2 separate regions of the Homo sapiens genome follow, and region 1 is linked to region 2. The links are contacts of gene promoters, found by promoter capture Hi-C in blood cells and fetal thymus (Javierre and others, 2016). All regions are on one chromosome and are shown on one strand. The core of a region is centred on a gene start or on the middle of the fragment in contact, and the rest is flanking DNA. Distances in the headings are between cores, read along the strand shown. Region 1 has its middle 76 kb from the start of NTS. Region 2 holds the start of C12orf50 (chromosome 12 open reading frame 50).

What was found. Contacts are between HindIII fragments. The CHiCAGO score rates a contact against its expected background, and 5 or more counts as called.
Region 1: a contact is called between a fragment that was not itself captured here and the fragment with the promoter of C12orf50 in region 2, in 3 of 17 cell types (M0 macrophages, endothelial precursors and M2 macrophages). The highest score is 8.7, in M0 macrophages.

The regions. Positions count from the first base shown.
Region 1 is chr12:85,947,891-85,951,978 of GRCh38, forward strand. No RefSeq gene overlaps it. Among named protein-coding and RNA genes, the nearest start is that of NTS, 76 kb to the left of the region's middle. The HindIII fragment of the contact is 520 bases long and covers 1,170-1,689 here.
Region 2 is chr12:88,028,060-88,032,549 of GRCh38, forward strand. It overlaps C12orf50 (chromosome 12 open reading frame 50), which reads right to left and starts at 1,342. Exons shown (of 13, transcript NM_152589.3): 1 at 1,281-1,342. The HindIII fragment of the contact is 7,634 bases long and covers 1-4,490 here.

The DNA of each region.
Region 1 (4,088 bases), core at 180-2,679, 2.1 Mb before region 2:
ATATTGATCTTGCTTATTTAGCTAGTGGGCTGTATCATAGCACTTATTCAGATTACATGAATATGGGAAAAAAATAGAAATGAATGCATCTGTTTTTCTGTCAGATCATTGGTATATTAATTGAATTAATTAGTAATAAAACTTGGTTATGATTTAATTGTTGTTATTGTTATCCTCAGTATACCACTGACTTCAAGTTTCTCCAGCAGTGAACTGTATTACTTTGAATTTAGTGTAGGGCTTGTAGTGCTGCGAGTGTTTTCTCAGTGTCCCTACTTTACTTCAGTTATCAATAGTATCTTCATGCCTATATCAGCCACTGCACTACATCGGTCTCTGGCACTTCTGCATATCTTGTGAGTAGAGGCACTGGCAGACTTTTTTTTCCAACTGCGTTTTCTTGGATATTTGTATAGCCAACAGCCTTGGAGGACTGGATGTCCTCCAAGGACAGATTTGCTTACTGTTTAGTATAATAAAGTTTCCCTTTTATGCAGCCCATTTTTAAAGATTGAAGTTTCCTAAGCTCAACATTCCTCATCTGTGAGACAAACCCACTGCATGTGTAGGATTGACCAGGTTGCTCCATGTATTCTTCATGAGACTTGGAGCGGAGGGAGAGCAAGGGCAAGGGCAACCATTAAAATGAAACAAATACTGTTTGTTGTTCTGGGAGTAATAAAGTTCTTTGGCTCTAACCCAGGAGTCTCATATCTTCTGTTAGCATCCATAAAACTGTAGCATGCTTAACTAGCTTGCTTGATAGTAAAATCTCAGAACTTCTAAACTTTTTTTTTTTTCTTTGGAGACAGGGTCTCACTCTGTCACCCAGACTGGAGTGCAGTGGCTCGATCTCGGCTCACTGCAACCTCCGCCACCCAGGATCAAGTGATTCTCCTGCCTCAGCCTCTGGAGAAACTGGGATTACAGGCACACTCCAGTACCTCCTGGCTAATTTTTGTATTTTTAGTGGAGACAGGGTTTCACCATGATGGCCGGGCTGGTCTTGAACTCCTGACCTCAAATAATATGCCTGTCTTGGCCCCCCAAAGTGCTGGGATTACAGGCGTGAGCCACTGCGCCCAGCTGAACTTCTTTATTTCTTTACATACTTTATGCCCTTGCCCTTCTCCCAGCATTAAACTGCTGTTGCTTGTTAGGGGCTGCTAAGCTTATTGCAGTAGCAGAGAGAGTATTTTGTTGTTGTTGTTGTTGTTTGTTCGTTTTTGCCAAGATCTAGCTCCAGCACTGCTGCCCTTCCTCTCCGGGGAAGCCAAACAGTACCTTGTATTATTTCTGGTTGATTTTGGGCAGGGGAGTCTCCTATTCCTGCCTCAGTGGTAGTAGATCACAGTTTGTTATTGTTGTATGATTCTTTACCCAAGAGAGTTTCTTGGCCTTTCAGCCAATGAAAATATGTATTTATCTTCAGCTCTTCAGTTTCACTGGGTTTTTTGCAATGTCTGGAGAGCCAGAGGCTTTTCCCTACCGGAGAGGCAATTTTGTTTCTGCTCTTCCATAGAAGCAGTGGCTCTTTGCATATTATCTGGTGGCAAAAGAATTAGTTGCCTTCCTCCAGGGCTTAGGATTTTTGCATAAGAAGGAAGTATCCATTGAAGTGGGCAGGTTTCCTTTTCCTGAATCCCCACAGCAGACAAATGCTATTTGCACATTTGCAACACTAAAAGAAGCTTTTCCTGTTCTTTTGTATTACCTTCAACTTTCTAGTGAGCACCTAGTTGCAAACTCCCCTTATGTCTGGGAATCTCAGCTATTGAGAATCGACATTTTCATGCAAACTTGGCCTTTAATAATTTGTTTAATTTTTAGCTGATTTTTTTCTTTCATGGGCATGTAGTGGTCATCTCTTTCTCCCATGTCCTACAGAAGGTTAATGTGTCTATATTTCCTTTTGGAGCTCCATTTTCCTGGTTGCTTTCTGTTCTCTTCTCTCTGATGGATTCACAAAAAGTTATGATTTGTGTACATTATCCAGATTCTTCTCATTTTTCAATTGAGTGCAACATTATTTAATAGATTTCTACAATTCTAAATGGAAGCATTTTCTAATATTTTTAAAATTGATAACTGTATATAAATAGTTGCATTTGAGTGACCAAGAGTAGTAGCTAGAGTATTTCCATTTATACCTCACTTCCACAAGGTATATACAGATTAATTCCAGCATAAAGAAGGCTATTTCCAAACCTCTTAATGCAGAGTTTAATTTAACATTGTTTTAAGTATTTAGTGAAGCAAATAGCTACTTCAGTATGTGTCTATCAACCTAAAAACATAATGAAGAAGTAAGTACTGAATATAGTAGCTCGTCTTTTGTTCTTTATATTAATTACCTGAATAATGTAAATCAGGTAATGTTATACACAGATGGGTATTTTCTAGGTTTTCTTCTAGGATTTTTATAGGTTGAGGTCTTACTTTTAAATTGAGTAAATTTTTGAGTTAATTTTTGTATATGATGATAGGTAGAAGTCCAATTTCATTCTTATGCATGTCGATAGCCAAGTAATTCTGATGCCATTTATTGAATAGGGAGCACTTTCCCCATTGCTTATTTTTGTCAACTTTTTTGAATATCAGATGGTTGCAGGAGTGTGGCTTTATTTCTGGATTCTTTCTTCTGTTCCTTTGGTCTATGTGCCTATTTTTGTACCACTGCTATGCCGTTATGGTTACTGTAGACTCATAGTATAGTTTGATATAAGGTAATGGGATGCTTCCGGATTTATTCTTTTTGCTTAGATTGCTTTGGCTATTTGGGCTCCTTTTTCTTTCCATATGAATTTAGAATAGTGTTTTCCAGTTTCTAAAAACTGACATTGATAGTTTGAAGGAATAGCATGAATCTGCAGATTGCTTTGGTCAATATGGACATTTTAACAATATTGACTCCTTCAATACCTGAGCTTGGAATGTTTTCCCATTTGTTTGTTTCATCGATGATTTCTTTCACTAGTGTTTTGTAGTTCTCCTTGTAGCGTTCTTTCATCTCCTTGGTGAGATGTATTCCTAAGGTTTTTGTTGTTTGTTTGTTTTCTGGTGGTGACTATTGTAAATGGGATTGGGATTGTGTTATTGATTTCGCTCTCAGTTTGAATGTGATTGGTGTATAGAAATGCAACTGTTTTTTTAATGTTTATTTTGTATTCTGAAAATTTATTGAAATTGTTTGTCAGTTTCTAGGAGCCTTTTGATGGAGTCTTTAGGGTTTTCTAGGTATAGAATCACAACATCAGCAAAGAGATAGTTTAACTTCTCTTCCTATTTGGATACCTTTTATTTCTTTCTCTTGCCTGATTGTTCTGGCTAGGACTTCCAGTACTATGTTGAATAGGAGTCCTCTCCAATGTCTTAAACATTCTTAAACCATTGAAATAAGGTTAAAATTAACTCTTAGAAATGTTTGAACAGAAAAGTAAATAAACATAGATAGATTTGAGGAATGTGTAGGAGAACCAAGAAGGTCACACAAACCTTATTGTATGGGGCAGGGGTGGAGGTGGTGATGGTTATGGAATGAGGAGCTCCAGTAACTCTGGAGACCTGTCTTTTCAATTTCCTACAAGGAGAGTCATTGTCCATTCTGAGGTACAAACCCACCTATTCCAGAACACTTGTATCATAACACATGCCTTTGTAATTAGCAAGAATGAGATTATATTTAGTAGATTTTAAGAAAAGGATAAACTATTGTCTTTTAATTATGTTGAAAAATAGACTGTACTTGGTAAGTTAATGAAAAATAAATATTCTTATTCTAGAAAATGGTGCAGTAAATAAATTTTACGATAATTCTAAAACAGACACATTTCTCCTACTCTTAGGATTATAATATCCATTATTGAAATTAAAAATTACAAATAGTTGATTCCTGTTGTGACAAACGAGCTAGAAGAGAATTACTTCTAGCTAGAAGAGTTTTTCTAGTTTTTTATATAACCTAACAGAAAAACCCCAAAGGCTTGATGGGAGGATAATAAATATGAATAAAACGTGTAAATCAAACACAAACATTTAAAATATATATTTGTGGGAAAAGAAAGCTAGAAAGATAATAATTCATTGAG
Region 2 (4,490 bases), core at 92-2,591:
GAAATAAAAACTACTTTCCTTACAGGTTAGCTGTAAAAATGATGTGATATAAGGTATTGTGAGCTATTATTATTATTTATTCATTTAATTATTTACTGGTAACTTACTCATTAGCCACTCTGCTAAGTACTTGGGGATACAGCAGTGAAATAGACAAAACACTCTGCCCACCTGGGACATGAAATCTGTTATTATTCTTTATTATCCTAGCATTTAATCTAACAGGTAATAGAAGTGAATCCAATTTCTGTGGTCAGAGAGGTTGACTCCATTCAGGTTTCCTAACAGAGAGGAAACACTTGAAACCAGACATATCATCTTTTTCACTGGATTATTTCTTGCATGAGCACAAAGCTCCAAATATTGAGTTTCTACCTTTATCTGGTTTTACTAAGATCTATACATCCTAATACATTGGAGGAATTCTCAGTTTTTCCCATTTAACTTTATAAAGTTTAATTTATATGTGGCCAATTTGTTTATATTAATTTTCTTTTTTAATGATATTTAAATATTTGTTATTACTTAGACTTTTGACAGAGGAAAATTCAGTAATTGGGTTAATAAATTTCAAATAGGAAAACAGATTTATTACACTAAGATTGACACTTACCTGAATTCAACTATTTGAATTATAATGACTGGAATCATATTAACTAAAACAATATCTTGTAACCTATGATGTTTTAATATTAGGAATTTAATGTCTCAAGGTGTCATAATATAGGCAAAAGTGCCACATGAAGATTCAAAAGCTATAGACATATAACTGGTATATATAAGGGTAGTTTCAAACAAATAATAATTTTAAATTATCTCAGATTTCTTCAGAGAAATTCAGTATGTCAAAAATACATGATAAGCTGTTACTCCAGATTTTACAAATATAAGATATCTTGCAAGAAAATAGTAAATTTTTGTTCAGCAATACAAGTTATTGCCATATCTCCCTTCATTCTACTAAAAAGATTAAGCATGTGAAGTACTGTCAATTGTACAATATTTACCTTTATGCATGTGGAATTAAAAAAGAAATAGCAGTCATTCCCAACTTCTGCCATTTTCAACTCTCTTGCTGCTAATCCAATGGTTTTTTTTTTTTGAAAAATATATATGAATTTCAGGAATGCAAATACAAGAACTATCAGTGTGTAAGGGGGAAAAATAATTTCTTTTCCACAGTCTTTCAGGCTATCAGTAGTATTCCTTTAAAACTGACCTCCTGTTGACAGTATATTACGCAATAGATAATTCTTAAAGACATTTAAATTAGAAGATACCTTCTCTAGCTTTGCAGAAACGCTGAAAGTGGTTGCTAGTAAGCACACAAACTCAAACTTCTAGAATTTTCCTCATTGTTACCTAATCCATTGTTTGCTCATCATAAATGACCTCACATGTAACTGCAGGCCAATGTTCACTCAGGTAAACTACAGTTTACCTGAGTGAACACTGTATTTCCCTTACTCAGTTTTAGCATATTAACTACAAAGGACTAGCAAAAATAAAATAGCATACTTTAATCTTTCAATGTTCTCGTTGAATATGGACTATAAACTAGTTTATACTTTTATAATAGAAAGTGATAAGTATTTCACAAGTAAACAGCTATTTCTAAATCTTCGTTTCTATAGAGGTTTTGGGAATAACACTAAAAATTTGCCATAGGTAAATGAGCTACTCATATTCTAAGATAATAAAAACAATTATTTAAATATGTACTCTCTACTATCCATTGATTTGGGAAAAATCATATTCAAATTGTGATATATTAATAGGTACCTGAAAATATATTGGGCTACTTATTCATCTTGTGGCTATATTCCATTTATTTTTCATCCATCATAAAAAGAGGAATATCTTCTTCCTATAGCAGAAAGTTTCCAGAGTGCTTGAAGGCTTTGAGAATTTGTTGAAAACAAGGGAAATACTCTGATTTCCAGAATGAAACATTTCAATCAGCAGTTATTTATATCTTCCTCTTAGTATCTTTAATCAAATAATTAAAACCCAGCAGAAATTAATAAAAAATATTCCTCATAAATGTATTAGTCCGTTTTCATGCTGCTGATAAAAGCATACCCAACTGGGAAGAAAAAGAGGTTTAATTGGACTTACAGTTCCACATGGCTGGGGAGGCCTCAGAATCATGGCAGGAGGTGAAAGGCACTTCTTACACTGCGGTGGCAAGAGAAAATGAGGAGAAAGTAAAGGTAGAATCCCCTGATAAACTGATCAGATCTTATGAGACTTATTCACTATCATGAGATTAGCATGGGAAAAACCCGTACCCATGATTCAATTACCTCCCCCTGAATCCCTCCCACAACATGTGGGAATTCTGGGAGATACAATTCAAGTTGATATTTGGGTGGAGACAGAGCCAAACCATATCATTCCACCACTTGTCCCTCCAAACTTCATGTCCTCACATTTCAAAACCAATCATGCCTTTCCAATAGTCCCCCAAAGTCTTAACTCATTTCAGTATTAATCCAAAAGTCCACAGTCCAGTGTCTCATCTGAGACAAGGCAAATCCCTTCCACCTATGAGTCTGTAAAATCAAAAACAAGCTAGTTACTTCCTAGATACAATGGGGATACTGGTATTGGGCAAAGCCACTGCAAGTGGGATAAGTTGGCCAAAACAAAGGAGTTACAGGACCCCTGCATGTCCTAATTCCAGCAGGGCAGTCAAATTTTAAAGCTCCAAAATGATGTCCTTTGACTCCAGGTCTCACATCCAGGTCATGTGGATGCAAAAGGTGGGTTCCCATGGTCTTGGGCACTCTGACCCTGTGGCTTTGCAGGGTACAGCCTCCCTCCTGGCTGCTTTCACAGGCTGGCATTAAGTGTCTGTGGCTTTTCCAGGTGCATGGCACAAGCTGTCAGTGGAGCTACCATTCTGGGGTTTGGAGGATGGTGGCTCTCTTCTAAAAGCTCCACTAGGCAGTGCCCCAGGAGGGACTCTGTGTGGGGGCTCCAGCCCACATTTCCCTTCCACACTGCCCTAGCAGGGGTTCTCCATGAGGTCCTTACTTCTGCAGCAAACTTTTACCTAAGCATCCAGGTGTTTCCATACATCTTCTGAAATCTAAGTGGAGGTTTCCAAACCTCAATTCTTGCCTTCTGTGCTCCTGCAGGCTCAACAGCAATGTGGAAGCTGCCAAGGCTTGGGGCCTGCACCCTCTGAAGCCACAGCTCGAGCTCTATGTTGGCCCCTTTCAGTCATGGCTAGATTGGCTGAGACACAGGGCACCAAGTCCCTAGGCTACAGATGGCACGGGGACCCTGGGCCTAGCCCATAAAACCACTTTTTCCTCCTGGGCCTCTGGGCCTGTGATGGGAGGGGCTGCCGTGAAGGTCTCTGACATACCCTGGAGACATTTTCCCCATGGTCTTGGGGATCAACATTAGGCTCCTTGCTACTTATACAAATTTCTGCAGCTGGCTTGAATTTCTCCTCAAAAAATGGGTTTTTCTTTTCTACTGCATCATCAGGCTGCAAATTTCTAAACTTTCATGCTCTGTTTCCCTTTTAAAATGGAATGCTTTTAACAGCACCCAAGTCACCTTTTGAATGCTTTGCTAAGCATTCAATCTTCCAGATTCAGCAATACCAGATACCTGAAATCATCTCTCAGGTACTTTGTTCAAAGTTCCACAAATCTCTAGGGCAGGGGCAAAATGCTGCCAGTCTCTTTGCTAAAATATAACGAGAATCACCTTTGCTCCAGTTCCCAACAAGTTCCTCATCTCTGTCTGAGACCACCTCAGCCTGGACCTTATTGTTCATATCACTATCAGCATTTTTGTCAAAGCCATTCAACAAGTCTCTAGGAGGTTCAAACTTTCTCACATTTTCCTGTCTCTTCTGAGCCCTCCAAACTGTTCCAACCTCTGCCTGTTACCCAGTTCTGAAGTCACTTCCACATTTTTGGGTATCTTTTCAGCAACACCCCACTCTACTAGTACCAATTTACTGTATTAGTCTGCTTTCACACTGCTGATAAAGACTGGGAAGAAAAAGAGGTTTAATTGGACTTACAGTTCCACATGGCTAGAGAGGCCTCAGAATCATGGTGGGAGGTAAAAGGCACTTCTTACATGGTGGCAGCAAGATAAAATGAGGAGGAAGCAGAAGTGGAAACCCCTGAGAAAACTATCAGATCTTGTGAGACTTATTCACTACCATGAGATTAGCATGGGAAAGACCCACCCCCATGATTCAATTACTTCCCCTGGGTCCCTCCCACAACACATAGGAATTCTGGTGGATATGATTCAAGTTGAGATTTGGGTGGGGACACAGCCAAGTCATATCAATAAATAACATAAAAGGTGCCATGAAAATCACACATTACTCTAGATAAAAACGTATTTTTAAATTGTCATGTATGTTTAATTAGAAATGTAAAAGACTAAGACAAATATGAATTCCCACTTCGGTTATGTAAAACAAGCTAAGCTGCTGGGAACTTTTGGAAGAC